Linked DNA regions of Homo sapiens: all the other regions are linked to region 1. Evidence: promoter capture Hi-C in 16 types of primary human blood cells and fetal thymus (Javierre and others, 2016). All regions are on one chromosome and are shown on one strand. Each heading gives the region's core, a stretch centred on a gene start or on the middle of the fragment in contact. The rest is flanking DNA. Distances are from core to core; before and after follow the strand shown. Region 1 holds the start of INO80D (INO80 complex subunit D). Region 2 holds the start of PLEKHM3 (pleckstrin homology domain containing M3). Region 3 has its middle 14 kb from the start of CCNYL1. Region 4 overlaps METTL21A (methyltransferase 21A, HSPA lysine). Region 5 overlaps CREB1 (cAMP responsive element binding protein 1). Region 6 has its middle 20 kb from the start of CREB1.

Evidence for each region. The method cuts DNA at HindIII sites, captures the fragments that hold promoters and counts their contacts. A CHiCAGO score of 5 or more calls a contact.
Region 2: a contact is called between a fragment that was not itself captured here and the fragment with the promoter of INO80D in region 1, in 2 of 17 cell types (total CD8 T cells and total CD4 T cells). The highest score is 8.8, in total CD8 T cells.
Region 3: a contact is called between a fragment that was not itself captured here and the fragment with the promoter of INO80D in region 1, in 2 of 17 cell types (neutrophils and monocytes). The highest score is 6.6, in neutrophils.
Region 4: a contact is called between a fragment that was not itself captured here and the fragment with the promoter of INO80D in region 1, in 1 of 17 cell types (neutrophils). The highest score is 5.2, in neutrophils.
Region 5: a fragment that was not itself captured here is called in contact with the fragment with the promoter of INO80D in region 1 in 1 of 17 cell types (neutrophils); the score reaches 7.3 in neutrophils.
Region 6: a contact is called between a fragment that was not itself captured here and the fragment with the promoter of INO80D in region 1, in 1 of 17 cell types (naive B cells). The highest score is 5.5, in naive B cells.

Annotation. Positions count from the first base shown.
Region 1 is chr2:206,083,438-206,088,303 of GRCh38, forward strand. INO80D (INO80 complex subunit D) reads right to left here and starts at 2,737. Exons shown (of 11, transcript NM_017759.5): 1 at 2,464-2,737. INO80D-AS1 (INO80D antisense RNA 1) reads left to right here and starts at 1,218. Exons shown (of 2, transcript NR_186084.1): 1 at 1,218-1,311; 2 at 2,520-4,067. RefSeq lists enhancers at 34-855, 2,484-2,773, 2,500-3,319, 2,824-2,873, 2,884-2,993 and silencers at 1,468-1,762, 1,664-1,713, 1,754-1,953, 1,974-2,143, 2,224-2,433. The HindIII fragment of the contact is 4,007 bases long and covers 1-3,829 here.
Region 2 is chr2:208,024,046-208,028,911 of GRCh38, forward strand. It overlaps PLEKHM3 (pleckstrin homology domain containing M3), which reads right to left and starts at 1,482. Exons shown (of 8, transcript NM_001080475.3): 1 at 1,344-1,482. The HindIII fragment of the contact is 609 bases long and covers 2,488-3,096 here.
Region 3 is chr2:207,694,898-207,699,763 of GRCh38, forward strand. No RefSeq gene overlaps it. Among named protein-coding and RNA genes, the nearest start is that of CCNYL1, 14 kb to the right of the region's middle. The HindIII fragment of the contact is 5,275 bases long and covers 99-4,866 here.
Region 4 is chr2:207,615,057-207,619,922 of GRCh38, forward strand. The region is part of intron 3 of METTL21A (methyltransferase 21A, HSPA lysine); the gene reads right to left. Among named protein-coding and RNA genes, the nearest start is that of METTL21A, 7.9 kb to the right of the region's middle. RefSeq lists an enhancer at 4,757-4,846. The HindIII fragment of the contact is 4,645 bases long and covers 1-4,175 here.
Region 5 is chr2:207,541,747-207,546,612 of GRCh38, forward strand. The region is part of intron 1 of CREB1 (cAMP responsive element binding protein 1); the gene reads left to right. Among named protein-coding and RNA genes, the nearest start is that of CREB1, 14 kb to the left of the region's middle. The HindIII fragment of the contact is 2,882 bases long and covers 1,451-4,332 here.
Region 6 is chr2:207,507,830-207,512,695 of GRCh38, forward strand. No RefSeq gene overlaps it. Among named protein-coding and RNA genes, the nearest start is that of CREB1, 20 kb to the right of the region's middle. The HindIII fragment of the contact is 1,140 bases long and covers 1,324-2,463 here.

The sequences.
Region 1 (4,866 bases), core at 1,487-3,986:
TGTTTAAAAAAATGTCCATGTCAATAAACAATTTCAATTAATCAATAAACTTAAAACAACCATTAAATGTAATTTGCATTTTTGTATCAGATCCATACAATCTCAAATATCAAGATTTTCTTAAGCTCAATGCTAAATGACCGGATATCTATCATTGTGGAGAAACAGAGTTTGATCTTAGGCAGACGAAAGGAAAAGAAAGGCACACACCTAGAAGAATCACATGAGTCTCATTTCGAAGCCTCACGGAAGTCAGCACTGAAAGTCGTGGGTGACCCATTGCCCTGCAAGTGGTAGCTTTTCACTAACAACAGTGCTGGGGGTACTGAGTGGGCAGAATGTGGGACATCTCCTGCCAGCAACTCCAGCCTGCTACCAAGCAGGACACCGCACATAAACACAACACTCTGCCCTAAGCTCACCAAAAAAAAAAAAAAAAAGGAAAAAACCAACAATTAAACGATGCAAAATAACCTCTCCAAACACGCCCACACTGGGGACTGGCAGTGGGGGGTGGCAGGGTCTATTAACATTTCAATGTCAACACTCAAGAACAACAAGGAGGTAAGCATAGCCACGGGAAACATCCTGTCCCTGAAAAGCAGAAAATCGAGATTTGGAAATTTATGTTTATCACTTTTTTTTTTTTTAACGTTCAGAGCTCAGGGCACCAAAATATAGCTAAAATTGAATCCATTTAAACAGAAAACATACGTGTGTGTGTATGAATATATATGTGTTTATATATGCATATAAAATATATACATACACATATATTTTTTTTTCGTTTAAATGTTATACATACACACACACACACACACACACACACACACACACCCCAAAACCAAAGTAGTTTTGCTAGGTTCCGAGGGCTCTTCCACAGACCCTTCTGAGTTGTAGCAATAACAAGTTTAGGTTTCCTTAAAATCTCCATTACTCTATTTCTAGGTCGAATACAAGAATGTCACATAAAACTAAACAGTGATTATCAGAATAAATGAACTACTGATCCTTAAACTGTAGACCTTGTTTCGGGAGCTGCCCTGCCCACTTCCTCTCCCTCCTCCCAATCCCGGAGGCTTCCAAGCCATCTGACAACCACGTCTCCCCCTTGGGATCTGTTCCGGTGTTGGTTTTACCGGACAGTGACCAAAAAGGAGGGGAAACTCCTACATCTGGGGACTGCTCCAGAAACCCTGCCTGATCCTGCCCCTCTCACTGACAGTCTCCTCGCTGCTCCCTACATCTTCCTCTCCGCCGGAGCTGTCCAGAAGGGGGATTTTGGACCCAAAGGAATCGGGATGAAAGGGGGTGGGTACTCAAGCTGAAAATAACACCCCCAGTTGGTGGGGTAAGGGCTAAAAAAGGCAATAGGGAAAGATTGTCCGGCAGAAACACCACCTGAGTTTACCTCCTCCTTCCCACCCCAAAAACCCAGTCACTAACTAATAAAGCTAAGAAAAGCCCCTTGCAAACTTTTCCAAACCGGAAGAGAAGGCCCTCTCCCCAACCTGGGGGGCTCTAGGGGGAAGGGGCTGGAGTTAGCAGCCCCGAATGGGCTCGCGGGGAGTTGGGTGGGGCGCGGGCGAGGGGTGCAGGGGCGGAGTACCTTCTTCAATGGACAGGAACTGGCAAAGAGTTTCAAAATAGCCGAGTGCGCTCCCCCACGCCCTGGGGGGTCCCGGGCGCTAGGACCAGGGCTCCCCGGAGAGACAGCGGCCCCCAGTTCGGGCCTAAAAGGAAACTTTCTGGGCCGCGGCTGCACCTGACTCCTCACCGCCCCTCCACCCGACCCCACGCCCGCCAGGCCGCCCGCCCCGCCCCGCCCCGGCCTGGCCGTCCGGAGCGCGGAGGAGGGGGATAAATAAATTCAACTCTTACCGGAATCTGGGGGCCGTCTGCGAGAGACCCGGGGGAAGGGGAGCCGGGCGCCCATTCCCCACTCCCCACTCCTAGGCCCTGACGCCCCTGTCCCGGCAGCCCGGGCCTGCCGCCCCGCGGGAAAGCCTCCGGGCCGGCGCGGGATTCGGCCCAGCAGCGCCGCCGTCCCACCCGGAGACCCCGGGGGACTCGAGGGGGCGCGCGGAGGCCCGGGGTGCGGGGGCAGGGCGCGGCTGCCGTGGGGCCTACCGGCCCGAGGCCTACCGGCGCCCCCCCCTCCCGCCGCACACCCCCACCTGGCCCGCGCAGGCCGCTCCGCTCGCCCCACTCCGGCTCCGGCTGGACCCCTGCCCGCCCGCCGTCGCCGCCCGCGGGCGCCCCGGAGGCCCTCAGGCCCCCGGCCTCCACCACCCGGGCGCCGGCCCCACTCACCCTTTCATTCTCCGCCCGGGGCCTGGCGTGGGCCGGCGAATCCCCGGCCTCACGTAAGCGCGCTCGCCGCCCGCCCAGCCTGCGCGGCCCAGCCCGCCGCCCTACGGGAGCCCGGGGATGTGGGCCGGGCCTGGGGCCGCCTCTGCTTACCTTTCAGCTGCTTTTTTTTTTCTCCTTCCCCCCTGTTCCCTCGGCTGGGCTGACAGATCAGAGTGAGAGGCGCTGGCAATGGACTAGGAAGCTCGGCTGCCGCTGCTACTGCTCCCCCCTGGGCTCCGGCGAGAGCCTTTCCCTGTCAAGCAAGAGGGGTGAGGATCATATTTTTATTTTGGAAACTAAAAAGTGCTCCCAGGGTCGGTGATTATTAAGGGGAAATCCCTGAATATACTCTCCAGCCAAGAAGGCAGGGCTGCCGGGGCTGTACAAGAAGAGGCAGCAGCCTCCTACAGCACCACTACAGGCACTGCGAGGACATAACACCAGAGAGCTGCTCCTCTGCCCTCCGAAACGACAACTTTCCTACCATCTTGGAGGCAGAGCAAAGGGGGGCCAGGGGGAAAAGTGCACCCGCTCCCGATAAAGTACAAATTTTTACTTCTCATCTCTGGAAAAAAGTCCACACCGGCCGTCTACACCCGCGCCTGGGGGAGAAAGCAGGGAAGAAACGGGGGGTGCATGAGAAACGTTTTCATTTGCTCCAGGGGGAAAAATGTTTCTGCATCTTCTGATGGAAAGAAATCTTTACAAGACACAGGTTTTCCGGTGGTTATTGTTTTTTATTTTCTGTTTTTAATTTTTTTCATGTTAGTGACAGTGATATTTTAATATTTTTTTAAGCCAGTAATAATTTTTCTCCATTACAGGGCTAAGTTCTGTGGCTGGTGGTCAGTTTGTAAATTTATACTTAAAGAGACTTAATAGTAACTTCATTTATTTGTCTGGTTATGTTATTGTATATATAAATATTTATGTTTTCATATATTGCATATAAAAATTTGTGTTACATGTTACTCTCAGAACAGATTGCTGTAAGACAATTGTAAAAAAACATGTCTTTCGTCTGTTTCTCAAAGCAATGTAAATAAAACCTATGGACTGTCCAGAAAGGCATGATACAGTGTGTCATTTTCCACAGTGCAGATAAAGGCAGCTATCACTGGGGATTTAAAAACGGCCCCTGTTTCTGGAAATTCTGTTATGCTGCCCATACAGAAAGGATACAGTAAAACTGGAAAGAGATTTTAAAGACAGCCTTAGATTTTTCTTGAGGTAAAATAGCTTATTAAGAATTATATCCGGGCATTTAATTTTTTTATTTATTTAGATTCTTTAAACTCTAGCTAGATCTTTGGTGCATTACACATGTTGCTATCTGCTTTTTGTGTCACAGAATTGAGAAATGTGGCTATTTTTGTTAGTTATGTTAGTTCAGAACTTCCAATGTGCTGCCAGCCTGTATGATAGACTTTTTGTATATTGCAGTGGATGTCATGAATTTACTTTTTTAAATGAGCAAAGCTTACTAGATAAATGGGATCAGAGTTAAACAATGCTGTTAGCACAGAGGTGAGAGGGACAAAGGGTACCCATTTACATCGATTCCAATAGAACGCTTATTGGAGGATAAATTGCAGAGACATTTTTCTATTTTTGTGAAGAAAGAGAAAAATAATAGAAAAAGAACCGACTATCTTTGTATGTTCTACTGGGGATGATGATTTAAATCTTGTATTAAAAGTTATTTTTCTAACACATGTTGACTAACCTGGCAGGAATGAATTTGTTATATTAGTGCCCTGAATCAGTAGAATATTTAATTTCTTTGTAAAATTTATTACACAACATTTAGAAATAACTTCCAAATTTAGAAATTGTCCTGATTTAAAAGTGAGTTCATGTAATGCATATATCGGATATTTATTAGTTTCTAGCTGAACCTTATCTTTATCATATAACTTTGAATATAGTACTTACCTAAATATTCTGGATTTTCTTTTTTTTTTTTTTTTTTTTTTTGAGACGGAGTCTTGCTCTTTCGCCCAGGCTGGAGTGCAGTGGCCCGATCTCAGCTCACTGCAAGCTCCGCCTCCTGGGTTCACGCCATTCTCCTGCCTCAGCCTCCCGAGTAGCTGGGACTACAGGCGCCCGCCACCACGCCCGGCTAATTTTTTCTATTTTTAGTAGAGACGGGGTTTCACTGTGTTAGCTAGGATGGTCTGGATCTCCTGACCTCGTGATCCGCCCGCCTCGGCCTCCCAAAGTGCTGGGATTACAGGTGTGAGCCACCGCGCCCGGCCTATTCTGGATTTTCTTCTGTGGTTTTCTTCCTCTTTGTTTGGTGGAAAAAGTTAAGTAAAATTAACTGATTCTCATCATCTTGGAAACCTCAATTGTGAAGCTATGTTCTATTTACAATATTTTTTTTAAACATTTAGACATCAAACACATTAGTTATCACAAGGAAAATCCCTTAACTAGACCTCTGGCGAAATTGAAAAACATGTTTTCTAACAACTTATTTTTCTTTATATATGACATGACTTTATAGATATG
Region 2 (4,866 bases), core at 1,542-4,041, 1.9 Mb after region 1:
GGTGGAAGGATCGCTTGAGTCCAGGAAGTCGAGACTGCAGTGAGCCATGATCACGCCACTGTACTCCAGCCCGAATGACAGAGTAAGACCCTGTCTCAAAATAAAATAAAATAAAATAAAATAAAATAAAATAAAATAACAATAATAAAAACCCTAATGAGGTCAATACTATTATTATTCCCATTCTACAGATTAGGAAACAGAAGCGCTAAGTAAACTGCCCAAGATTACACAACTAGGAAGTGACCAAGCAGGAATTCAAACTGAAGTAGTCTGGCTTTATAGTTTTTGCTATAAACCATGACATTGTAAAAATATTCATTGTAAAGAAAAACTCATCAGGAATTAGTATCATTTCTTCTATGTATATCTATCTATTGTAGGTGCAATTTAACCTAATATTCATCTCCTGTCTAAAAGACTATGTGACCAAGGTTACAAATGTCTACTGATATTTTTAGAGACTAGATATATAGCCCAGCTTTTGTTAAGGCATTTTCTTGAAGTCAGTCAGTCAAAAACTGCCTTGTATTTTAAGTATGCCAATTATAATTTACATGTAGTATTTTATAATAAAATACTTTATAAATACAAATCACAACTCACTACGATTACTTAAAATATAGAGAAAAAAATTCAGCTGTTTCTCTCTGGTCCCTTCCAAGGAAGAAAAAAGAAGAGAGAAATAAACTTCTAAATAAGTTTACAACAGCATGGCTCAATCTCAGTTTAACCTGGTAAATTCAAATTTGTCTTGCTTTGCAAGGTATACATCCAGACCAGTCTCAATTTGTCATCCAAATATATATCTCAGTAGTAATTTATTTTTGTTTAAGGGATGAGTGTGAGATTTTCTTATCTTGATTTTTTAGCTTAATAATTCTTTCCTACAAGACCAAACCATGCTTGTCATCAGTCATGTGGTGTCATTTACTATACATTAAAAACGGACAGAGTCGACAGAAAGAACAATCGTTTTCTGGAAGCCCCAGCCTGATGTAGGTTAAAAGCTCTGCTGGGGTTTGGTTTTATAATCCCCAGGCGGGGATGGCAGGGATACTAATAACGCACTCAACAAGATCACCTACTATTTCAACTACTTTCTCCTCCTATTACATACCTGATTCACAAAAATAAGCAGACAATGCATCATGTAATCTCCCCTCACCCATTAGCCATTGCAGTGTGGTACAATCTCCAGCACGTAATAAAAACCTGAGCATGCAAGAAACAGCAAAATCACTGCTATCCCTGGGAGCTGCTCGGATATTTACAATGCAGTCGTCCCCACCCCATCCCCCAAACTGGCCGGCCAGGCAGCACAGAAGCAGACGGATGCTCACCTGGGCCCCGGCTGCTACTCTCCATTCACCTGCGGGGCCTTCAGTCCGCTCCTGGAGGGGCTTGACTCCCGCAGCCTGCCGCCCGCCTCACGGTGACAGCCCGCCCGGGCGCTGACCATCCCGGCCCGGCTCTGTTTACAAGCGGCTTCTCGCGGTCCCACTCTGAAATGCTTCCGCCGGCGGCCCGGGCAGCCAGAGCCGGACACACAAGGTTCCAGGCCGCGAGGACGAGTCTTTCCTGCCCGAGGGACCCGGCAGCTAGGCAAGGCCTGACCGCACCCGCCAGGCCTCCTTATTTCTTTGCTTTCTTATATACAGTTCCTCTTGTACACATTGTGAAAGCAATGGCGTGTGTCGTGGAGTCTCCTCACTGCTCCACCCAACGCCAAAATGGGTGTTTGCGATTGGAAAATGTCACTTAGAACATGTCAGGATCGGGCTGGTTTTTAGCAGCTCCCTTGTCTAAGGGAATTAATTACTCAAATAAGTTCTTTCCAAAAGTGGGACTATTCTGGAGATTGCTTCTCATTTCCGGTTTTGGGGCTGCAGTGAAAATCCGTTTTCACTGTCCTTTCCTACGCAGGTTGAAAAGGGGTGGTTTTGAGGTGAGGTCTTCACCCCCACTTGCGGATTCCCAGCAAAATAGGGTGTGCGTGTGTGTGCACGCGGGCAGGACTGCCTGGTAAGACCGCCCACATCCCACCTGCAGTGACTGTGGTCGCTTTGCAGGGATATGCTGGTCTGATTGGACAGACCTTCCTTGCAGTTTCCTGTCTGTTTTCCATCATAGCACACTTCTTAGCCATTTTCTCACTTTATAAGTACACACTTATTTATCAGTTTTATTGGTTTTCCCACGCTCACCCATCTCACCTATAAACTCCCTGAGGGCAGGCACTATTTCAGTTTCACTCACCACCATCTAGTAGGCACCTAGCACAGGCCCAATGTATATATATCTGAATAAATGAATGAACAAAGGAATGATAAAAAAAAAAAAAGGTCAAAGGGGTCAGGGATGAAACAGAAATCTAAAACTCTGATTCCTCTTCCCACCTTCCCACCCTCCAGAAGATTAATAAGCAAATCTTTAAGCTTTGAGTTAAGAAAAAATTTCCTTTGGTTGATATTCAAAGTTTAAATAAGCTTTCTTTAAACCCTGCAATTTGAGGTACTTTTTTTTCTGTTTTGCTAGAGACAGGATCTCACTCTGTGCCCCGGCCAGAGTGCAGTCGCACGATCATAGCTCACTGCAGCCCTGAACTCCTGGGTTCAAGGGATCCCCCCAACTCAGCCTCCTGAGTAGCTAGGACTACAGGCACGCATCACCACAACGTGGCTAACTTCTTTTTTCTTTCTTTCTCTTTTTTTTTTTTTTGTAAAGGCAAGGTCTCCCTGTGTTGCCCAGGATGATCCTGAACTCCTGGCCTCAGGCAATCCTTCTTCCTTGCCTTCCAAAGTGCTGGGATTACAGGTGTGAGCCACCTCACCTGGCCAGAGGTACATTTTTTGTTTTGTTTTGTTTTAATTACCAAAAGAGAATATTTGCAGTATTCTCTTTTGCCTCAGGACTTTGTACATGTGATTCCCTCTGATGAGAGTTCTCACTCCTGGCCCATCCTCTTACTTAGGCTGGCTAATTTCTCTTTGCTCTTTAAGAAGCAGGTAACAGGTGCTTGGTCTCTCAAGTCACTTGCTTGGTCTTCTTCCAAGTGTTCTTTTCTTCTTTTCCTTCCCTTCATTACTACTCTAAAGCTTTTTAATAAACTTTCACTCTAAAAAAAAAAAAAAAAAAGGCCGGGTGTGGTAGCTCGTGCCTGTAATCCACGCACTTAGGGAGGCCAAGGCGGGTGGATCGCTGGAGGCCAGCGGTTCGAGACCAGACTGACCAACATGATAAAACCTCATCTCTACTAAAAATACAAAAATTAGCAGAGCATGGCGGTGCACGCCTGTAATCCCAGCACTTTGGGAGGTCGAGGCGGGTGGATTGATTGAGGCCAGCAGTTCGAGACCAGCCTGGGCAACATAGTGAAACCCTGTCTCTACTAAAACGAAAATTAGCCAGGCATGGTGGCACACGACCTGTAATCCCAGCTACTTAGGAGGCTGAGGCACTAGAATCGTTTGGACTCAGGAGACGCAGGTTGCAGTGAGCTGATATTGAGCCAGTGCACTCCAGCCTGTGCAAAAGAGCGAGACGCTGTCTCAAAAAAAAAAAAAAAGCAGATGACATCACACCTCTTCTGGAAACCTTGCCTGATAGGGGAACCTGCTCCTTTTATGCACTCCTAGAGGATCTCATGTGTTCCTTTATAAATGTACCCATTACATTGTGCTACACAGATCAGTCTTCCATTGGATTGGTGGTTCTCAAAATTCACATGGAACAGAATCTTCTAGGATGGTGTTTCTCAAACTTTAACGGGTAAGAATTCTGTCAAAATGCAGAATCTGATACAGTAAGTCTGGGATGGGGCCTCTCCAACAGTCATGATCTCCTAAGTGATGCTGCATTTTGAGTGTCAAGGTTCTTGAATGCTGTTAAAAATGCAGATTCCTAGGCCGGGTGTGGTGGCTCATGCCTGTAATCCCAGTACTTTGGGAGGCTGAGGCGGCCGGATCACCTGAGGTCAGGAGTTTGAGACCAGCCTGGCCAACATGGCGAAACACTGTCTCTACGAAAAATACAAAAAATTACCCGGATGTGGTGGCTGGTGCCTGTAGTCCAAGCTACTTGGGAGGCTGAGGCAGGAGAATTGCTTGAACCCAGGAGGCAAAGGTTGCAGTGAGCCGAGATCATGCCATTGCACTCCAGCCTGGGCGACAGAGTGAGACTCCATCTCAAAAAAAAAAACAAAAACAAAAACAAAAAACAAAAAAACCCCCGCAGATTCCTGGATCACACATTCACAGATTTTTATTCTGAAGATCTACCTACATTAGGGTCCTGAATTCCATAATTTCTACAAGGTCCTCAGTGCTTCCCAAGTTGGTGATCCATGGACCATCCTTTGAGAAAAACTCTTTCAGACTAGTCTTGAAGTCTGATGTCAGGAGTTTGTGATTTGTCATTGTTTTTCATGGATTAAGCATGAAGTCTGGGACATAAAATGCATTTAAAAAACTGCTTTTGGCCTGGCACAGTGGCTTACGCCTGAAATTCCAGCACTTTGGGAGGCCAAGGCAGGCGGATCCCTTGAGGACAGGAGTTCAAGACCAGCCTGGCCAACATGACAAAACTCTGTCTCTACTAAAAAATACAAAAATTAGCCGGGTGTCATGGCACACATCTGTAATCCCAGCTACTCGGAGGCTGAGGCAGAGAATCACTTGAACCTGGGAGGCGGAGGCTGCAGTGAGCTGAGATCATGCCACTGCACTCCAGCCTGGGAGATAGAGCAAGACTCCATCTCAAAAAAAAAAAAAAAACAAAAAAAGCTGTGTTTGCAAAATGACTGATTTTATTCACTCTCACTAATACAGATCCTCAGCACCAGAATTAAGGGGATGATCCCAGAAA
Region 3 (4,866 bases), core at 1,486-3,985, 1.6 Mb after region 1:
TTGGCATCACTGGGGAATTTAAAACTACATACAGACAGTGTCATGATCCCTCAAACTCAAGGGGACAGTACTATTACAGAGGACAAGAGTTGTTAAAAAGCTTTATGTTGTCATTTCTATACTGAACATATGGCATTCTAGTTTCTGGTAGGAAGTGGCAGTTACAAAGACTAAACTATAGTTTTGCAAACATTCTAAACAAGGTATTTAGGATTGCTCAAGAAAATAAGCATGAGGATCTGGTAAGATACACATCGAGACACGTGCAACCTCTCATTCACCTTCTATCTGATCCTGAGGTGACTGCATGGGGTAAAAATCAGTTCCCTCGCTCACTTTAGCCCAGACACATATCTGATTCTCACCAACCTTGAAGATATGGGCTCGTGCTCGAGATTTTGTTTGGGTTCTGCCTAGGTATTTCTAGTCTCAGAAATTCCCTGATGGCTAAATTAAATGAAAAATCTAAGAATTCAGAAACTGACAGGCCCGGGAAGAATATTTGTGACTCTGAATCTTTTGCAACAACATTTTGTTTTTCTAAGTAAAGAAGTAATCTGAGGCGGCCCTTAGTGCTGAATGACCAGACTTTGTCACCTTGCCTCGGTTTCAGGTTTTCATAGGGCCTTCCAGAGGTCAAGAGAGGCACTGTCCACTTCCATATTAAACAAAAACCAAAAAGAAGAAGAAAAAGATATGCCAAAATAGGGTTACAAGATTTGTCGTGTATTTTAAACATCAGTATTTAACAAGTAAGCAATTCCAACATCCACATGCACACACACATTCAGTTCAGTGTAATTATTATATTCCCAAAGTGACTGGGGGGTTATTAGGGGGTTTATTTAAAATATTGGTTCATAGTTCATGAGAGGTGAGACAGTAATGAGACAGAGAGCTGAAGTTGGTCGATGCCATCTTCTTTCTTCAAACCTGCCAGTGCTTCTATTTAACTGTGGGTGTGACCTGGTGGCACTGAGGCCCTTGGTGATAGTGAGGCCCAGAGCTAGTGGCCTCCTGATGTCCCCTTTTCAGTCTCAAGATGTTTGCTCCTGGAAATGTCCAGCTTAATTAGATAGGCACCACTGCCTATCATTTCTTTTTTTAGATAGAGTCTTGCTCTATCGCCCAGGCTGGAGTGCAGTGGCACGATAATTGCTTACTGCAGCCTTGACCTCCAGGGCTCAAGCTATCCTCCACCTCAGCCTCTCCAAGTGCTGGCATTACAGGTGTGGGCCACCGTGCCCAGCCCTACCTATCTTTTTTTTTTGAGACAGAGTCTTGTTCTGTCGCCAGGCTGGAGTGCAGTGGTGCAATCTCGGCTCACTGCAACCTCTGCCTCCCAGGTTCGAGCAATTCCCCTGCCTCAGCCTCCCGAGTAGCTGGGACTACAGGCACGCACCACCATGCCTGGCTTAATTTTTTATATTTTAGTGGAGACAGGGTTTCACCATGTTGGCCAGGATGGTCTCGATCTCCTGACCTCATGATTCGCCCACCTCGGCCTCCCGAAGTGCTGGGATTACGGGCATGAGTGCTAGGATTACAGGTGTGAGTCACCGCATCCAGCCCCTACCTGTCTTTTTAGTGTCACCTTTCTTCTGTGGTCAAGTGAGCAGATGGGCCCAAGAACCTGGGCTCTTACTAATGGCATTTTTTGTTTTTTATTGTTATTTTTTCCAATTCACGTGCCCTGAGTTTGATCCCTTGTTTTTGTTGAATAACTGTCAAAAGCAGCCTGGAGTGGAAGGACAAGTGTATGTAGATGGAGTTGATTGGCCTTGGGGTGGGCAGTTTGGGGGAGGATGTGGAGAGACTTTGAGCAGAAGGAAGCAAAAAAAGTACATACACCCTGTATTAGTCAGGGTTCTCTAAAGGGACACGACTAATAGGATAAATGAATATGTGAAGGGGAGTTTATTAGGAGAATTGACTCACATGATCACAAGGTGAAGTCCCATAATTGGCTGTCTGCAAGCTGAGGAGCCAGGAAGCCACTCCAAGTCCCAAAACCTCAAAAGTAGGGAAGCCAATAATGCAGCCTTCAGTCTGTAGCCGAAAGCCCGAGAGCCCCTGGCAAACCACTGGTGTAAGTCCAAGAGTCCAAAAGCTGAAGGACTCAGAGTCTGATATTCAAAGGCAAGAAGCATCCAGCACGGGAGAAAGATGGAAGCTAAAAGACTCAGCCAGTCTGCTCTTTCCGTGCCTGCTTTTATGCTGGCAGCTGATTAGATGGTGCCCACACAAATTGAGGGTTTGTCTGCCTCTCCCAGCCCACTGACTCAAACGTTAATCTCCTTTGGCAACACCCTCACAGACACACCCAGGAACAATACTTTGCATCCTCCAATCCAATCAAGTTGACACTCAATATTAACCATCACACATCCTTAAAGGAAGCTATTGATGCAGGCTCCTTCCGTAAGAGAAGACCCCTGAGTATCATAAAAGGGGTCTTGAGACTTATCTCAAAGTCTCCCAAGAGGAGCATGCTGGTCAAAGTTTGGTCCAACTCTGAGCTGTGTTATTTCCCACAAAGCCATTACCACTGAGTTGATGGACATTTCCAAACTGGGCAGAGCACTCATGACTTTTCTCCCAAACCTGACTGGCAAAAATTGTCCACTTCCCTGAAATTTTGTTTGCAGATATCAGAGGAGGGTTACATTTCTGCATTCCCTAAGGGGAAGCCAGGAATGTGGGAGTTGGGGTTGGGGAGGGGAGAGTGAATGAGCGCTGGAATCCTGGCAGATGGCAGTTGCTAACCAGGGAGCCAGAAAGGCTTGAGGATGAGGAGCCTGGTGTGCAACACAGGGACAGGGAACAGAAGTAGGAAGGGAAAGGAAGAGCAACCAGTTGACTTTAAAGAGGGGAAGAGAGGTCCCATTGAATCACCCTGCAGAGAGGACTCATGAAAAAATCAGGCTGGTTTCAAATGATGGCTTATCCAGTTTATCAGATTGGGAAGTAGGATGGCCAAGTGGGATAGCAGGGGTACAAAGAGGGATTTGGACTTGGGGTCAATGCCTTAGAAGCGCTTCTTTCTGTCTTGCCCCAAACCTTCAAACTGTGCTACTAAATAATTAATATGAAGGTTACAAACTTTTTGATATACGTAGTCTGGGCTTCATGCAGGAGCCAAGGAGCCCCTATAAAATACGTCAGGTTCAGTGGCTCTCCAGTGGCTTCCCATTTCCCCCAGAATACACTCTAAAGTCCTTTCTAAAGCCTGCAGGCACTTTAGGACCTAGTGGTACCTTGCTGCCTCTTCTAACCACATCTTCCATTCTCCTCCAACCCCTCTTCCAGGCACCTGGGCCCTTGGCTTTCCTCTAGGGCTCCACTTTTGGGCTGTTCCCCAGATACCCATAGAGCTTGTACCCTCTCACTTCATCCAGGCTGCTTTCTATGCCCCTTGTTAGTCTGCTTGGGCTGCCATAACAGAGTACCACAGATGGGTGACTTAAAAAACAAATTTATTTTCTCACAGTTCTGGAAGCTAGAAGTCTGCCATCAAGGTGCTGGCAGGATTGGGTTCTTCTGAGGGCCGTGAGGAAGGGATCTGTTCCGGGCCTCTCTCCTTGGCTTGTAGATGACCATTCCCTCCCTGTGTCTTCACACTGCCTTCCCTCCATATGACTATGTCCAAACTTCCTCTTCTTCTTCTTCTTTTTTTCTTTTTTTTTTTTTTTGAGAGAGAGTCTTGCACTGTCACCCAGGCTGGAGTGCAATGGTGCGATCTCGGCTCACTGCAACCTGTGCCTCCTGGGTTCAAGCGATTCTCCTCCCTCACCCTCCCAAGTAGCTGGGATTAGATGCACCTGCCACCACACCCAGCTAATTTTTTGTATTTTTAGCAGAGACAGGTTTTCACCATGTTGGCCAGGCTGGTCTCAAACTCCTGACCTTGTGATTCTCCCGCCTAGGCCTCCCAAAGTGCTGGGATTACAGGCATGAGCCACCAAGCCTGGCACAAACTTCCTCTTCTTTTTTTTTTTTTCTTTGAGACAGAGTTTCACTCTGTCACCCAGGCTACAGCGCAGTGGCACGATCTCGGCTCACTGCAAGCTCCACCTCCTGGGTTCATGCCATTCTCCTGCCTCAGCCTCCCGAGTAGCTGGGACTACAAGCGCCCGCCACTGCGCCCGGCTAATTTTTTGTGCTTTTAATAGAGACGAGGTTTCACCGTGTTAGCCAGGATGGTCTCGATCTCCTGACCTCGTGATTCACCCACCTCGGCCTCCCAAAGTGTTGGGATTACAGGCATGAGCCACCGCACCCAGCCACCTTCCTCTTCTTATAGGGACACCACACACCATTACTGAATTAGGAACTGCCCTAATGATACCATTTTAACTGTATTACCTCTGAAAAATCCTGTCTCCAAATATGGTCACGTTCTGAGGTACTGGGAGTTAGGACTTCAACATGTAAATTTTGGGGGGTAGAGGGGGAGGCAAAATTCAGATTATAACAGCCCCTTATTGATTGGAGAAGACTCCCCAACCATTCTTTATAAAATAGTGCCCTTATTAACCGAATATATTTATTCATTCAGTTTTTCTTTTCTTTTTTTTCTTTTTTTTTTTTTTTTTTGAGATAGAGTTGCACTCTTGTTGCCCAGGCTTGAGTGCAATGGGCAATGGTGCAATCTTGGCTCACTGAACCTCCGCCTCCCGGGTTCAAGGGATTCTCCTGCCTCAGCCTTCCAAGTAGCTGGGATTACAGGTATGCTCCACCATGCCCGGCTAATTTTGTTTTTGTTTTTGGGTTGTTTTTTTTTTTTTTTTGAGACAGAGTTTTGCTCTTGTTGCCCAGGCTGAAGTGCAATGGTGTGATCTCTGCTCACAGCAACCTTCGCCTCCC
Region 4 (4,866 bases), core at 603-3,102, 1.5 Mb after region 1:
ATGAAAATGCTCAAGTTGTTAGATTTTACAAGCCTGAACCTACCACTTTGACCATTCGTTGCTAGACAGTGTGTTGCCCAATGGATAGATTTCAATGACAGTTTTCATCTTTTCTGAAAATAAAAATTGCAGACAGCCAGGCCGAGTAGCTCAACCTGTAATCCAAGCACTTTGGGAGGTCGAGGCAGGAGCATCACTTGAGCCCAGAAGTTCAAGACCAGCCCTGACAACATAGAGAGATCCCATCTCCACAAAAAAATAAAAAAATTAGCCAGGCGTGGTGGCACTATTCAGGAGGCTGAGGTGGGAGGATCACTGGAGCCCAGGAGGTCAAGGCTGCACTTAAAAGAACAACTTTAGGCCAGGCGTGGTGGCTCACGCCTGTAATCCCAGCACTTTGGGAGGCCGAGGCAGGTGGATCATAAGGTCAAGAGATCGAGACTATCCTGGCCAACATGGTGAAACCCCGTCTCTACTAAAACTACAAAAATTAGCTGGGCATGGTGGCGCGTGCCTGTAGTCCCAGCTACTCAGGAGGCTGAGGCAGGAAAATTGCTTGAACCTAGGAGGTGGAGGTTGCAGTGAGCCGAGATCATACCACTGCACTCCAGCCTGGCAACAGAGTGAGACTCCGTCTAAAAAAAAAAAAAAAAGAAAAGAAAAGAAAAGAAAAGAACAACTTTAACTTACCACTTAAAGAACAAGTATTTTCACTTACATTACTGTCATACAATTCAGTAATTTTTCAGTGATTATATATGTATTACATAAACACATATAGATTGGCTGCTTCATAACAGCCTAAGGAGAGGTGGACTGGGATTTCTTAATAGCCAATGTCTCTCTTCTATGATTGTTTTTTTTTTCCCAAACATACAGAGAGGGTTTTGCCATGTTGTCCAGGCTGGCCTCCAACCCCTGGGCTCAAGCAATCCACCCGTCTTGGCCTCCCAAAGTGCTGGGATTACAGGCGTGAGCTACTGTACTCAGCCCTATTATTCTTTTTTAAAATTTTAACCTCACGATACAGGCTTTCCCTATTTTTGGTATTTTGTCATGTGAGCAATGAGCCATGGTCATGCCACTGCACTCCAGCCTGGGCAACAGAGCGAGACCCTATCTCTTTTAAAAAAAAAAAAATGCAGACAGCCTTTTCCAAGGTTTGAGTTAGAACTGTATCTCTGAATTTCTTAACAGTACACAGAGCACTCTGCAGGCAATATTGGAGTGACTGAGTCATCTGCACATCACCTCAGTATTCATTTTACCAGCTCATAGATAAAGGCCTTCTCTAATGCCTGTCCCAGGCATTTCAAAGGCTACTTCTAACCTGGTAGGTATTCCAGAAGTCTGAATAGGATCTTAATGTCAGTTGACCACCCCCTGTAATTCCACACATATCTGAATGACTACCATCAGCCATGGAACAGAAACCTCTCCCCTCATACAACTTACATTCAAGTGAGAGATAGGCAGTAAGACGTTTTTTAAAAAAACAGAATATCCGGCTGGGTGCGGTGACTCACGCCTGTAATCTCAGCACTTTGGGAGGCCAAGGCGGGTGGATCACCTGAGGTCAGGAGTTCGAGACCAGCCTGGCCAACATGATGAAACCCTGTCTCTACTAAAATTACAAAAAATTAGCCAGGCGTGGTGGCAGGCGCCTGTAATCCCAGCTACTCAAGAGGCTGAGGCAGGAGAATCGCTTGAACCCGGGAGGCAGAGGTTGCAGTGAAGATCGCCCTACTGCACTCCAGCCTGGGCGACAAGAGCGAAACTCCCATCTCAAAAGAAAAAATAGAGTGAAATCCAGCAGCAGCATTTCCTTCAGCCCCACTCAGCCACAGAGGCACAGACCAGGGACAGTGGAAGGCTGCAGTTAACCTGGCTTGTTTTGAAGCAAGGAAAGGCAGGGAGTCGGTGTCAACCGTACATGAAGATGGTGATAAAATGACTGCCTGTGAGATTTATGCTGGGTAAGGAGGGTGAGACAGTATTTAGTTCAGAAAAGACTAGTGGAGACTGACCCAATAGGACAACACAGTATGCTGTCCATTAGTAATGGGAAAAGAATGTATAAACATGTGTCATCAGTTTTCGTTTTAGTTTTATAACACCTTATTTATGCAAACATTCGAGCACATACTATGTGCTAGAGATACAAAGATGAGGAAGAAAGTCCTTACCCACAGCTCAAAAGTCTCATGTGGGAGAGACACATAAACACAGTTGTGATGCAGTGTGGGAAGAAAAATAATAGAAACATGAGTGTGCGCAGGAAATCATGAGGTCACAAAGGAGAAATTCTTCAAGAGGAGCAGAGGTCAAAGAAAAAATCCCAAAGGAAGGGAAATCTGAGCTTACGCTTAAAAGATGAGGCATGAACCAAGGAAAAGGTGTGAAGAAAGGGCATCCAAGGCAGATGGGACAGGCCAGAGCAGGATGTGTGTCCCAGGAACTTCATGCACTCCAATCTTGCTGAGAAAAAGTGAGGCTGAAGAGTCAGGCAGGATGCGATAACAAAGCCTTACTAAGACGCCTGGGATTTAGCCTGCAGGCAGGCAGTGGGAAGGCAAACAAGTGTTCAAGCACAGGTCATGCCATCAATTTTGCATTTCAGATGGGCCACTCTGACAGCTATTGAGAAAATAGGTTTAAAAAGACGAAACAGAGGCAGACAGGCCAGGTGGAAGAGTGATGTGATCATGCAGGCAGGTGACAGATGATGAGAGCTCAAGCCAGGCAGTGGGAGTGGACAGAGAGAGACAGATCCAGGAAATAGTTAAAAGACGGAATCAGTGGGACTCCAAGGGGTAGGGGAGGTAGACGGGGAGTCAAGGAGTTGGGTGGGGGCGGTGACTACTTAGAAGGTGATGCCAACTCAGAATAAAGGAGGAAGAACAAGTTTAGAAAGAAAAGAGTTTGGCTTTAAACAGATACCATTTGAGGTGCTGGGAAATAGCCAGGTATAGATATCCAGCTTTCAGTTAAACACACAAGCCATAAGTTCAGCTGAGATTTGCACTCGAATTACAGGAAAATCAAAGACAGTATCTTCCTCAGCATTATATTTCAAGACAGTGGTCCCCAGCCTTGGCTGGGCATCAAATCACATGGGAAACTTTTAAAATTCAGATTCCCTGACCCCATCCCAATTTACAGAATCCTCCTATCTTCAAGATGGGGTGTTTTTATTCTATGGATACAGCAGTTCCCTCTTATCTGCAAGGGATATGTTCCAAGACCCCCAGTGGATGCCTGAAACCACAGATAGTAACAAACCCTGTATATAAGATGCTTTTTCCAATATGTATATACCTATGGTAAAGTTTAATTTCTACATTATACACAGTAAGAGATAAACAATAAATAATAAAACAAGATAATTATAACAATATACCATAATAAAAGTTATGGGTGGATCACAAGGTCAGGAGTTCAAGACCAGCCTGGCCAAAATGGTGAAACCCCATCTCTATTAAAAATACAAAAAAAAATTAGCCTGGTGCAGAGGCAGGTGCCTGTAATCCCAGCTACTCAATGGGCTGAGGCAGGAGAATCGCTAGAACCCGGAGGCGGGGGCAGAGATTGAAGTGAGCCGAGATCGCACCACTGCACTCCAGCCTGGGTGACAGAGTGAGACTCCATCTCAAAAACAACAACAACAACAAAAGGTATGTGAATGTGGTCTCTCTCTCTCTCTAAAAAATATCTTATCATACTCTAGTCACCTGTTTTCAGACCAAGGCTGACAGTGGGTAACTGAAGCCAGGGAAAGTGATCACAGGTGAGGGGGGACTGCTACAGTTCCAAGTACCATAAGACCAGGGAGATTTTCAAACTAAGAACGAGGATTTGAGAGTCAGATTGGATTCAAATTCTAAGCACAATCCATTAGCTTTGTGACCTCAGGCAAGTTACTTACCCTCCAAGAAGCCTCCCTTTCACCACTGGAAGGGCGCTATAAGTAGGTAAGGCCTACTTACCATGCAGGGTGACTGTGAGAATGAAAGGGTGTAATGCACAGTCCTCAGAACACAGGAACTACTCAGGAATTAGCAGCTGGTTTTTAACAGGAAAGTCTCATCACCCTATATTAATATCTACATAGCACCGCTTTTTTTTTTTTTTTTTAATCTTCTTTCTTTACCTCTACCCACTAAACTCAGAACGTAAGCTTCCGGAGACACCTGCCAGCCTGTTTATTGCCCCATCCACAGTGGACCGCCAGGCTTCTGGTGGGTTCTCCCCAAATTCAGGAATAAATGACTAAGGTTACAAAAAGAGAATATACTTTAAAAAGAATAATAATTAATCTCTTCCTGACATTTCAAAATCACTACCTATTCTAGTACTCACTGATTCTATTTTGAAGAGACTAACATTTTCTTACCCTCAGGCTCCAACAGCAAAACTTCTCCAACCTAACACTTTGTAGTGACTACAAATAGTGAGTATGAAAATCATACAGTAGCAGAGAAATGCTTATGACATAATGTGAAAACATCATTTGTATAGGTGTGTGTATACGGATACACAAAACACACATACGCAGACATATATATTTACATATATATAATCATAATTACAACTATGATTAAAAATACAGATGGAGAGAAACAAAACATACCAAAATGCTAATGGTAACTCTGGTGGTATCTGAAATATCTTATTCTGACTTTCCCAACCCCAGAGAACCAGATTGCTAGATCAGAAAAAGCAGTTACTCAGAGAGTAATCAACACTCGTGGAGCACTTCCTTTGTGTCACTCAGTGAGCCAGCAGATGTTATACACGCAATCTCATTGGTTCCTCACTGTGGAGTAAATATTACTATTATGCACAATGTACAGATGGGGTAATCAA
Region 5 (4,866 bases), core at 1,642-4,141, 1.5 Mb after region 1:
TTCAGTATATTCACAAAGTTGTGCATCTATTACCACCATCAGTTTAGGACATTTTCATTATCCCTAAAAGAAATCTACACATCTCCTCTCAGCCATCACCTCTTAATCTCCCCATACCTGCAGCCCTAGGCAACCACCTATCACCTTTGTGTCTCTATAGGTTTGCTTATTCTGGGACATTGTGTATAAGTGGAATCATATAGCATAATGTCCATTGTGATGAGCTGCCTTTAGCATAATGTTTTCAAGGTTTATTCATGTTGTAGTATGTATCAGTATTCATTTTTATTGCCATAATAGTCCATTTTATGGATATAGAACATTTTATTTGTGAGTTCACGGACATTGGACTTTTTGATTATTATGAAAATGCTGCCATAAACATTCATTTATGTTGACTTGCCTTCATTTCTCTGAGTATATACTCAGGAATGGAATTTTATGGTAACTGTGTTTAACCATTTAAGGAACTGCCGGGCTGTTTTCCAATCTGCTGCACCACCAGCAGTGTATTAGGGTTCAAATTTTCCCCCATCTTCACTAACACTTGTTATCATCTGTTTTTTGGGGTTTTGGGTTTTTGTTTTTGTTTTTTTGTTTATTTCAATTATAGCCATTCTACTGAGTGCAAAGAGGTAGCTCAGTTTGGTTTTGATTTGTATTTCCCTCACGACTAATGATATCAAGCTGCTTTTCATGTGCTGATTTGGCCATTTGTATATCTTCTTTGGGAAAATTTCTGTTCAGATCTTTTGCACATTTTAAAATTCGGTTGGCTTTTTGTTGTAATAGTTGTTTATTATTCTAGATACAAATCTCTTGTCAGATACATGATTTACAAAAATTTTCTCCTGTGGGTTGTCTTCACTTTCTTGATGGTGTCTCTTGAAGCACAAAAGTTTTTAATTTTTATGATTTCCGGTTCATCTAATTTTTCTTTTCTTGTTTGTGTTTTGGTGTTATATTGTGTATATCATAAATTCTTGTTTATTATAAACATTTAAAAAATATCTCTGATCTCTGTGAAGGCCCAGGCAAACAAGATACCATTATTTAATGAAAAATAACTGAAGCTACTAATGTGTATTTGGAGTTATAATCCACCTACCTCAGGCCTTCCCTTTATTCTGTGTCCATATCCTTCAGTTTGTAGTGACAGATGAAAGAAGCAAAGATGAAAATCGAGAAATAATTTTGAGTGAAACATTTTAATTTGAAGCACAGTTGTCCCTTGGTATCGATGGGGAATTGGTTCCAGGACCCCTTCAGGTACCAAATCCACGGATGCTTGAGTCCCTTATATAAAGTGGTATAGTATTTGCATGTAATCGACAAATATCCTCCCATATACTTTAAATCATCTCTAGATTACTTATAATACCTTATACAGTGCCTGCCCATCACTTGACTCTTATGGGTTCAGCATAGGAGTCAGCATGCAGCAAATTCAAGCTTTACTTCTGGGACTTGGGGATTTTTTTCCCCCAAATATCTTTGATCTGCAGTTGGTTGAATCCACAGATGCTGAATCTTTGGATACAGAGGCCCAGTTGTAACTATGATCCAAGAATTTGTTATTTATTATGAGAGAATTTATTATAATGACTGCGATGGTAGTTTATAACTTATAAACTCTACCATATTTGGGAAATTCACAGTTACAAACATTTACCTATGAAGGGGGAGTGAGTAGTCATTCCTTCATTTTTTACAAATAAGCTGAGTCGTGGAGAATTTAAGTGATGTGTGTAGAAACTCACAGTAAGTAAGGCGTAGTCTTCATCACTCTTGTAGTACTGCATTATCTCTTTGTAAAGTTTTCAGGGTTTCTGTTTTATTAATGGTTATTAATTTTATTTATTTATTTATTTATTTATTTTTGAGATGGAGTCTGTCACCAGGCTGAAGTGCAGTGGTGCTATCTTGGCTCACTGCAGCCTCTGCCTCCTGGGTTCAAGTGATTCTCCTGCCTCAGCCTACCGAGTAACTGGGACTACAGGTGCATGCCACCACACCCAGCTAATTTTTTTGTATTTTTAGTAGAGACAGGGTTTCACCATGTTGGTCAGGATGGTATCGATTTCTTGACCTTGTGATCTGCCCACCTCAGCCTCCCAGAGTGCTGGGGATTACAGGCGTGAGCCACGGCGCCCAGCCAAAATTTGTTTTTTTGTTTGTTTGTTTGTTTTTTGAGACGAGGTCTCGCTGTGTTGTGCAGGCTGGAGTGCAGTGGCACCATCTCAGCTCACTGCAAGCTCTGCCTCCTGGGTTCATGCCATTCTCCTGCTTCAGCCTCCTGAGTAGCTGGGACTACAGGGGCCCGCCACCACGCCTGGCTAATTTTTTGTATTTTTAGTAGAGACAGAGTTTCACTGTGGTCTCGATCTTCTGACCTCATGATCTGCCCGCCTTGGCCTCCCAAAGTGCTGGGATTACAGGCGTGAGCCACTGCCCGGCCAAAATTTTTCTTTTTAAGCAATATTAGTTTAGGCTTGTAAGTAGCTCACTTAGGGTAAATATTCTAGCCAAGATCATGAAAAAATACATTGATTTCATTATGTTCTTAATCAGATCTGCATCAGATTACCATAAATAGGCAGCTATTCTTTCTTTTTTTCCACAGTTCATTGTATTCCTACCATTTCCAAATAGAAGTTTATGGTTTTAAATTACTGATGTTAAGTACTTGTTTGGAAGGAATTTATAGTTAAACTAGTTATAATAATTTATACCTGTCAAGCTCTTTCATATATAGTACATATTTTATCTCTCATTAGTTTCTGTAAGCTCTTGAGAGAAAGGTTCTTTTTTATTTCCACCTTTTAAGTTCAGGGGTACATGTGCAGGATGTGCAGGTTTGTTACATAGGTAATCGTGTGCCATGGTGGTTTGCTGCACACATCATCCCATCACCCAGGTATTAAGCCCAGCATTCACCAGCTGTTCTTCCTGATGCTCTTCCTCCTCCCACCCCCAACCCTCTGACAGGCCCCAGTGTGTGTTGTCCCCCCAACCACCGATGTGTCCATGTGTTCTCATCATGTACCTCCCACTTACAAATGAGAACATGCGGTATTTGGTTTTCTGTTCCTGTATTAGTTTGCTGAGGATAAAGGCCTCCAGCTCCATCTATGTTCATGCAAAGGACATGATCTTGTTCTTTATGGCTGCATAGTATTTCATGGTGTGTATGTACCACATTTTCTTTAGTCTGTCATTGATGGGCATTTAGGTTGATTGCATGTCTTCGCTATTGTGAATAGTGCTGCAGTTAACATATGCGTGCATGTATTGTTATAATAGAATGATTTATATTCCTTTGGGTATATATCCAGTAAGGGGATTGCTGGGTCAAATGGTATTTCTGCCTCTAGGTTTTTGAGGTATTGCCACACTGTCTTCCACAATGGTTGAACTAACACCACCAACAATGTAGAAGCATTCCAGAGAAAGGTTCTTTTATTTTTGTTTTGTTTTGTTCGAGACAGTCTCACTCTGTTGCCCAGACTGGAGTGCAGTGGCATGATCTCGGCTCACTGCAACCTCTGTCTCCTGGGTTCAAGTGATTCTCCTGCCTCAGCCTCCTGAGTAGCTGGGACTCCAGTCATGTGCCACCATGCCCGGCTAATTTTTGTATTTTTAGTAGAGATGAGGTTTCACTATGTTGGCCAGCTGGTCACGAACTTCTCACCTCAAGTGATCCACCCGCCTTGGCCTCCCAAAGTGCTGGGATTACAGACGTGAGCCACTCCGCCTGGCCTAATTCCAGAGAAAGGTTCTTATATGTTTTATGCTATAGTCCCATAGTATGGGACTACTACTATGTAGTAATTTTCAGTTCTGCTGAAAATGCTGTAGTCGTTACTACGTAGTAGGCGCAGAATATTTGTTTAATGAGTGATTCTCTATTAAAGGGTCATAAATTTGAAAGGTAAAGGTTAAGAACAATTTCTCTTTAGAGTTGTACAGATTAAAGGAAGTGAACTTTTTTTTTTTTTTTTTGTGAGATGGAGTTTCGCTCTTTCTGCCCAGGCTAGAGTGCAATGGCGCAATCTCGGCTCACTGCAACCTCTGCCTCCTAGGTTCAAGCGATTCTCCTGCCTCAGCCTCCCGAGTAGCTGGGATTACAGGCGTGCGCCACCACGCCTGGCTAATTTTGTATTTTTTTAGTAGAGACAAGGTTTCTCCATGTTGGCCAGGCTGGTCTTGAACTCCCGACCTCAGGTGATCTGCCCGCCTTGGCCTCCCAAAGTCTTGGGATTACAGGCATGAGCCACCGCACCTGGCCAAACATATTTTTCTTTAACTGAGGAAATTAGATTCATTGTCCAAAGCTTAAAAGGAAGATTTTCTACTTTGAGTTTTTATTAACTCTGATACTTTACTATGACAGTACTTCCAGCCTCTGAGACATGAGAAATAGCGTGAGATTGTAGTAATCAAAATGACCTTACCAGAAATCACCACCAGGTTGGTGAAAAACAGTACATCTACACAGAAGGATGGACTTGATGTTGATTCTTTCAAGATTAAAGATGAAGATGCCCGAACTTGAAGCAAGTCTTTTATCAAAACCGTACATAAAGCAAAACACACTGTATGATACTGTAATGGTGGACACATATCATTACGCATTTATCTGTAGAATGTGCAACACCAAGAGTGAACCGTAAGATTAAAAAAGAAACAACAACAATAGGCTGGGCGCAGTGGCTCATGCTGGTAATCCCAACACTTTGAGAGGCTGAGGTGGGCGGATCACCTGAGGTCAGGAGTTTGAGACCAGCCTGGCCAACGTTGTGAAACCCCATCTCTACTAAAAATAAAAAAATTAGCTGGCTGTGGTGGCGGGTGCCTGTAATCCCA
Region 6 (4,866 bases), core at 644-3,143, 1.4 Mb after region 1:
ACAGGGTCTTACTCTGTCACCTGAGGGTCTTACTCTGTCACTGGAGTGTGGCAGTGCAATCAAGCCTTACTGCAGCCTCAGCCTCCTGAGCTCAGGTGATCTTCCTGCCTCAGCCTCCTGAGTAGCTGGGACCACAGACGCATGATAATTTTTTAAAATTATTATTTGTAGAGATGGGGGTCTTGCTATGTTGCCTAGGCTGGTCTCAAACTCCTGGGCTCAAGTCATCCTCCTACCTCAGCCTCCCAAAGTGCCGGGATTACAGGTGTGAGCCACTGTATCTGGCCATGCTCCCTTTTTACAGCAATGGGTCTCAAAATGTGGTCCTGGACCAGCATTATCAGCATCACATAGATACTTGTCAGAAATGCAAATTCTTATTCTCCTACTGAATGAAAAACTGGGGATGAGGGCCAGTCATCTGTATTTCAACAAGTCTTGCCGGTGATTCCGATGCACGCCATAGCGTGAGAACCAGTATAGCAATAAAACCTCTGATGTTTAGCTGGTAAACATGGCCACCTGGACAAAGAGACTAGGTAAGGTGGCTGCATAAGGCCCCTTGACTAAGTTCTGTCAAAACAGAAACAACAAAAAGTAAAATAAAAAGTTCTGTCAAAACAGCAAAAAGTAAACAGAAATGTGAAAAGGGGAGTTATCTTCTCTGACTCCTCCTGCTTCATGATGGCTGGAATTCAGATGTGATAGCTGGATCCCCAGAAATAGTCTTAGACAAGAGATGATGCTGAGAAATTAATCCACGCACAGCAGAGCAACAAAGTGGAAGGGGTATGGGACCCTGGCACTGTGGAGCTGCCATATTAGCTCTGAACTGACTCCCTGATTTCCTGAACAGAAAATTTCTACCTTGTTTAAGCCTGTTATTCTGTTTTCTATCTCTATAATATCCTAATGCATGATCTTAATAAAGTTAGTCCCCTTTCCCCTCACCTACTAAGATGTTCTTTAATATAAGAATATTTTCTTTATTGTCACAAGTTATCTTGCAGATTATTTCTTTAGTTGTTTGACTCTCTTCCTATTGGTCTGGAAGCTCTATGAAAGCAGTTACATTTTCTTTATTATTGAATCCCCAGCATCTAATACACACTATCCTCACAATATTTACTGAATGGAAGATGGAAGGATGGATGTAGGCAAACCAAATTTTGTCCGTTTTTGGCACTGATAAATTGACTATGCTTCAAAATAAATCTTTTAAATACTAAATTTTCAACAAAACTATCCCCTGCCCATATCCTAGCTTTGTTCCACATTTAATCTGAATATGAAGCAATAATATCAGTAACAAACACTTTTAGAAGCTTTAAAATGTGCCAAAGACAAATTCCAATACAGGAGCAACCTACAATATACCTGACCAGTCCTCCTCAAACTGTCAAGGTCATCAGAAATAGGAAAGTCTGAGAAACTGACACAGCCAAGGGAGCCTAAGGAGACATGACAACTAAATATAACACAGTATCCTGGGATGGATTCTGGAACAGAAAAGGACACTAGGCAAAAACTAAGAAACTCTCAATAAACTATGGACTTTAGTTCAAAACAATACTCTATCAATATTGCTTCATTAATTATAACAAATGTACCATACTAATGTCAGATGTCAGCAATAGAGGAAACTTTGGGTAGGGTGGGGTGGGGAGGTTACATGGGAACTCTCTATATTATCTGCTTGCTTTTTCTGCAAGTCCAAAACTTTCCTTAGGGCTGGGTGCGGTGGCTCACACCTGTAATCCCAGCACTTTGGGAGGCCAGGGTGGGTGGATCACTGGAGGTCAGGAGTTCAAGACCAGCCTGGGCAACATGGTGAAAGCCTGTCTCTACTAAAAATACAAAAATTAGCCAGGCGTGGTGGCAGGTGCCTATAATCCCAGCTACTCAGGAGGCTAAGGCAGGAGAATCACTTGAACCTGGGAGGTGGAGATTGCAGTGAGCTGAGATCTTGCCACTGCTCCAGCCGGGATGACAGAGTGAGACTCCATCTCAAAAAAAAGAAAAAAAAAACTTTCCTTAAAAATAAAGTCTATTAATAAAAGACGTGTGCCAAAGACTGTTACATATATCAACTCATATTGCCTGTATTAATTCTCATAGAGACTGAGATAGATAACTATGATGAGCCCTATTTTACAAATCCAAAATGTACATTAAGTTATGTTCCCTAAAGTCCTTTAGGCTTATGCTATATGTTTCTTCTGGATCAAAATCTATTTGATTCAATTATTTAACATAATGTGTATTGCTTATTGTGTGCCAGTAAGGGACTGAGTTTAGGCAATTCTATGAGCAGAGTTAAAATTGGGAGAGCAAGGAGGCTTTGTATCAGCCCACTAAAATTTAAAGGGCACAAGCAAACATTTTCAAGAATTTTCTGTTCTGAAATGTGTTATATTTACATGTTGACAACACATATATTTCTCTAACAGGTAGAAACAACTAAGCTTGATATCTAATTATCAAGAAAAATTACTTAAATATGAAGCCACCAGATGGCACAAAGTGTTAAGAACACATAAATCATACATCATATGTTACAAAGCTGATTTAAGAGTGGGTTTGTGTCTTGTACTTATAGTGAAGGCTCTATCTCCGAATATATCCCTGGTAAAAGAACATCTCAAATGAGAAAAATCTCTAAGTCATTGCATTACTTTCCAAAGATATTCACTGTAAACCTTAACTATGATTTTGGCTTAGTGTTTTTATTATTGGCTACCCTGTTGACCAAAACAAAGATTTGGCACCTTGGCTGTTCAGACTGAAACTCCCGGCCAATGCAATTTGACCATGAAATGTTATGAGTGCTCACTATGATAACATGGTACAATTCAGGCAGATATAAGCTTTGCTGAAGAAGTATTCTACAAAGTGCATTACCCATGAGGTTTGATTTCTATACTCTGAATTGGAATCAATTGGTAATATTCAATCCAAATAGCCACCTGAAACAATACCCAAGTGCAATGGACCAAATGTTTGTGATCTCACAAAATTCATATATTGAAATCCTCATCCACAATATGATGATATTAGGAGGTGGGGCTTTGGGAGGTGATTAAATCAGGAGGGTAGAGCTTTCATGAATGGGTTAGTGCTCTTATAAGAGATCCCAGAGATGTCTCTAGGTCTCTCTTCACCATGTGAGGACATGACAAGAAGATGAGAAGATGGCCATCTGCAAGCCAGGAAGTGGGTGTTCACCCACAGAGAGAGATGCCTTGATCTTGGACTTCCCAGCTTCCAGAACTATGAGAAATAAATGTTTGTCATTTAAACCACCCAGTCTATGGTATTTTGTCATAACAGTTCAAGCCGACTAAGACACCAATGGAGCACTTTGCATCTATGATTTCATTGCTTCTCGTGGTTCCTTCATCTGCCTCACTCTATTTATCTTTAAAAGTTCTGCAGAGAGGCTGGGTGCGGTGGCTCACACCTGTAATCCCAGCACTTTGGGAGGCTGAGGCAGGCAGATCACGAGGTCAGGAGATGGAGACCATCCTGGCTAACACAGTGAAACCCCGTCTCTACTAAAAATACAAAAAATTAGCCGGGCATGGTGGCAGGCATCTGTAGTCCCAGTTACTCAGGAGGCTGAGGCAGGAGAATGGCGTGACCCCAGGAGGCAGAGCTTGCAGAGAGCCGAGATCGCACGACTGCATTCCAGCCTGGGCGACAGAGCGAGACTCCAACTCAAAAAAAAAAAAAAAAGTTCTGCTGAGAGCTGAGGTGCGCCTGTAGTCTCACCTACTTGGGAGGCTAAGGTGGGGAGGATTGCTTGAGGCCAGGAGTTCAAGGCTGTTGTATGCTATGATCACACATGTGAACAGACACTGTACCCCAGCCTGGGCAACATAGCAAGACTTCATCTCCAAAAAAGTAAAGTTCAGGGGAGGCCTCAACTCCTTCACAGTCTTTCTTAACCTGATCTGTGTGGGGTCATTTCTATATACTCCCATAGCACCTTGTGCTGACATTGCTCATAGGATTTATCACAATTCAGTACAACTCAACAAGTATTGAATGAATGCCAATGAGACATGGTTCTAGGCACTTAGGAATCATTACTGAACAAATCAAAGATGCCTACCCTTCTAAGGAAAGATAGATAATAAACTACAATACATAAATAAATGTTGTAGTATGTTATACTGATAAGTGCTATGGGAAAAAGAAACCGTGGAGTGGATTACAGGGAATGGGATGGAAGGGAGCACAGAAGAGATTCAGGTTGCAGTCTAAAATAGGGTGGCCATGGTAGGCTTCAGTGAGAACATGAGATTTCATCAAAATCTTGATGGACGTGAGGAAGTTAACTCTGTAGATCCTGGAGGAGGAGGATTCCAGGCAAAGGGAAGAGCTAAAGCAAAGATCCCTCCAGCAGGAGCATGATGATGAGATTGAGAAACTGCGAGACCAGTGAGTCTTGAGCAAAGTGCACCAGAAGCAAGGAAGAGAGGGAGAGAGGTGAAGCAGGGAGCACTAATTTTGTCAGACCTGTAGCCATTACAAAGACTTTGGCTTTTACTCTGAGCGAAATGGGGAGCTGGGAGAGCTGAGTTTTGGGTAGAGGAGAGACATTATCTGACTTAGTTTTGTAAGATTTGCTCTGGCCACTACGTTGAGAATAGAATTGTAGTGGGGCCAAGACAGAAGCAGAAAAACCTGTTAAGAGGTAATTATAGGTGAGAGATGATGATGCCTCAGGCCAGAACAGTAGCAGTAAAGGAGGGCAAATTCTCTATATAGAAACTTGGTAGATTAGATGTGGTATGTAAGAGACAGACAGAACCCAAGGATGACTCCTGGGATTTCGATCTAAGCAACTACTGCAATGGAGTT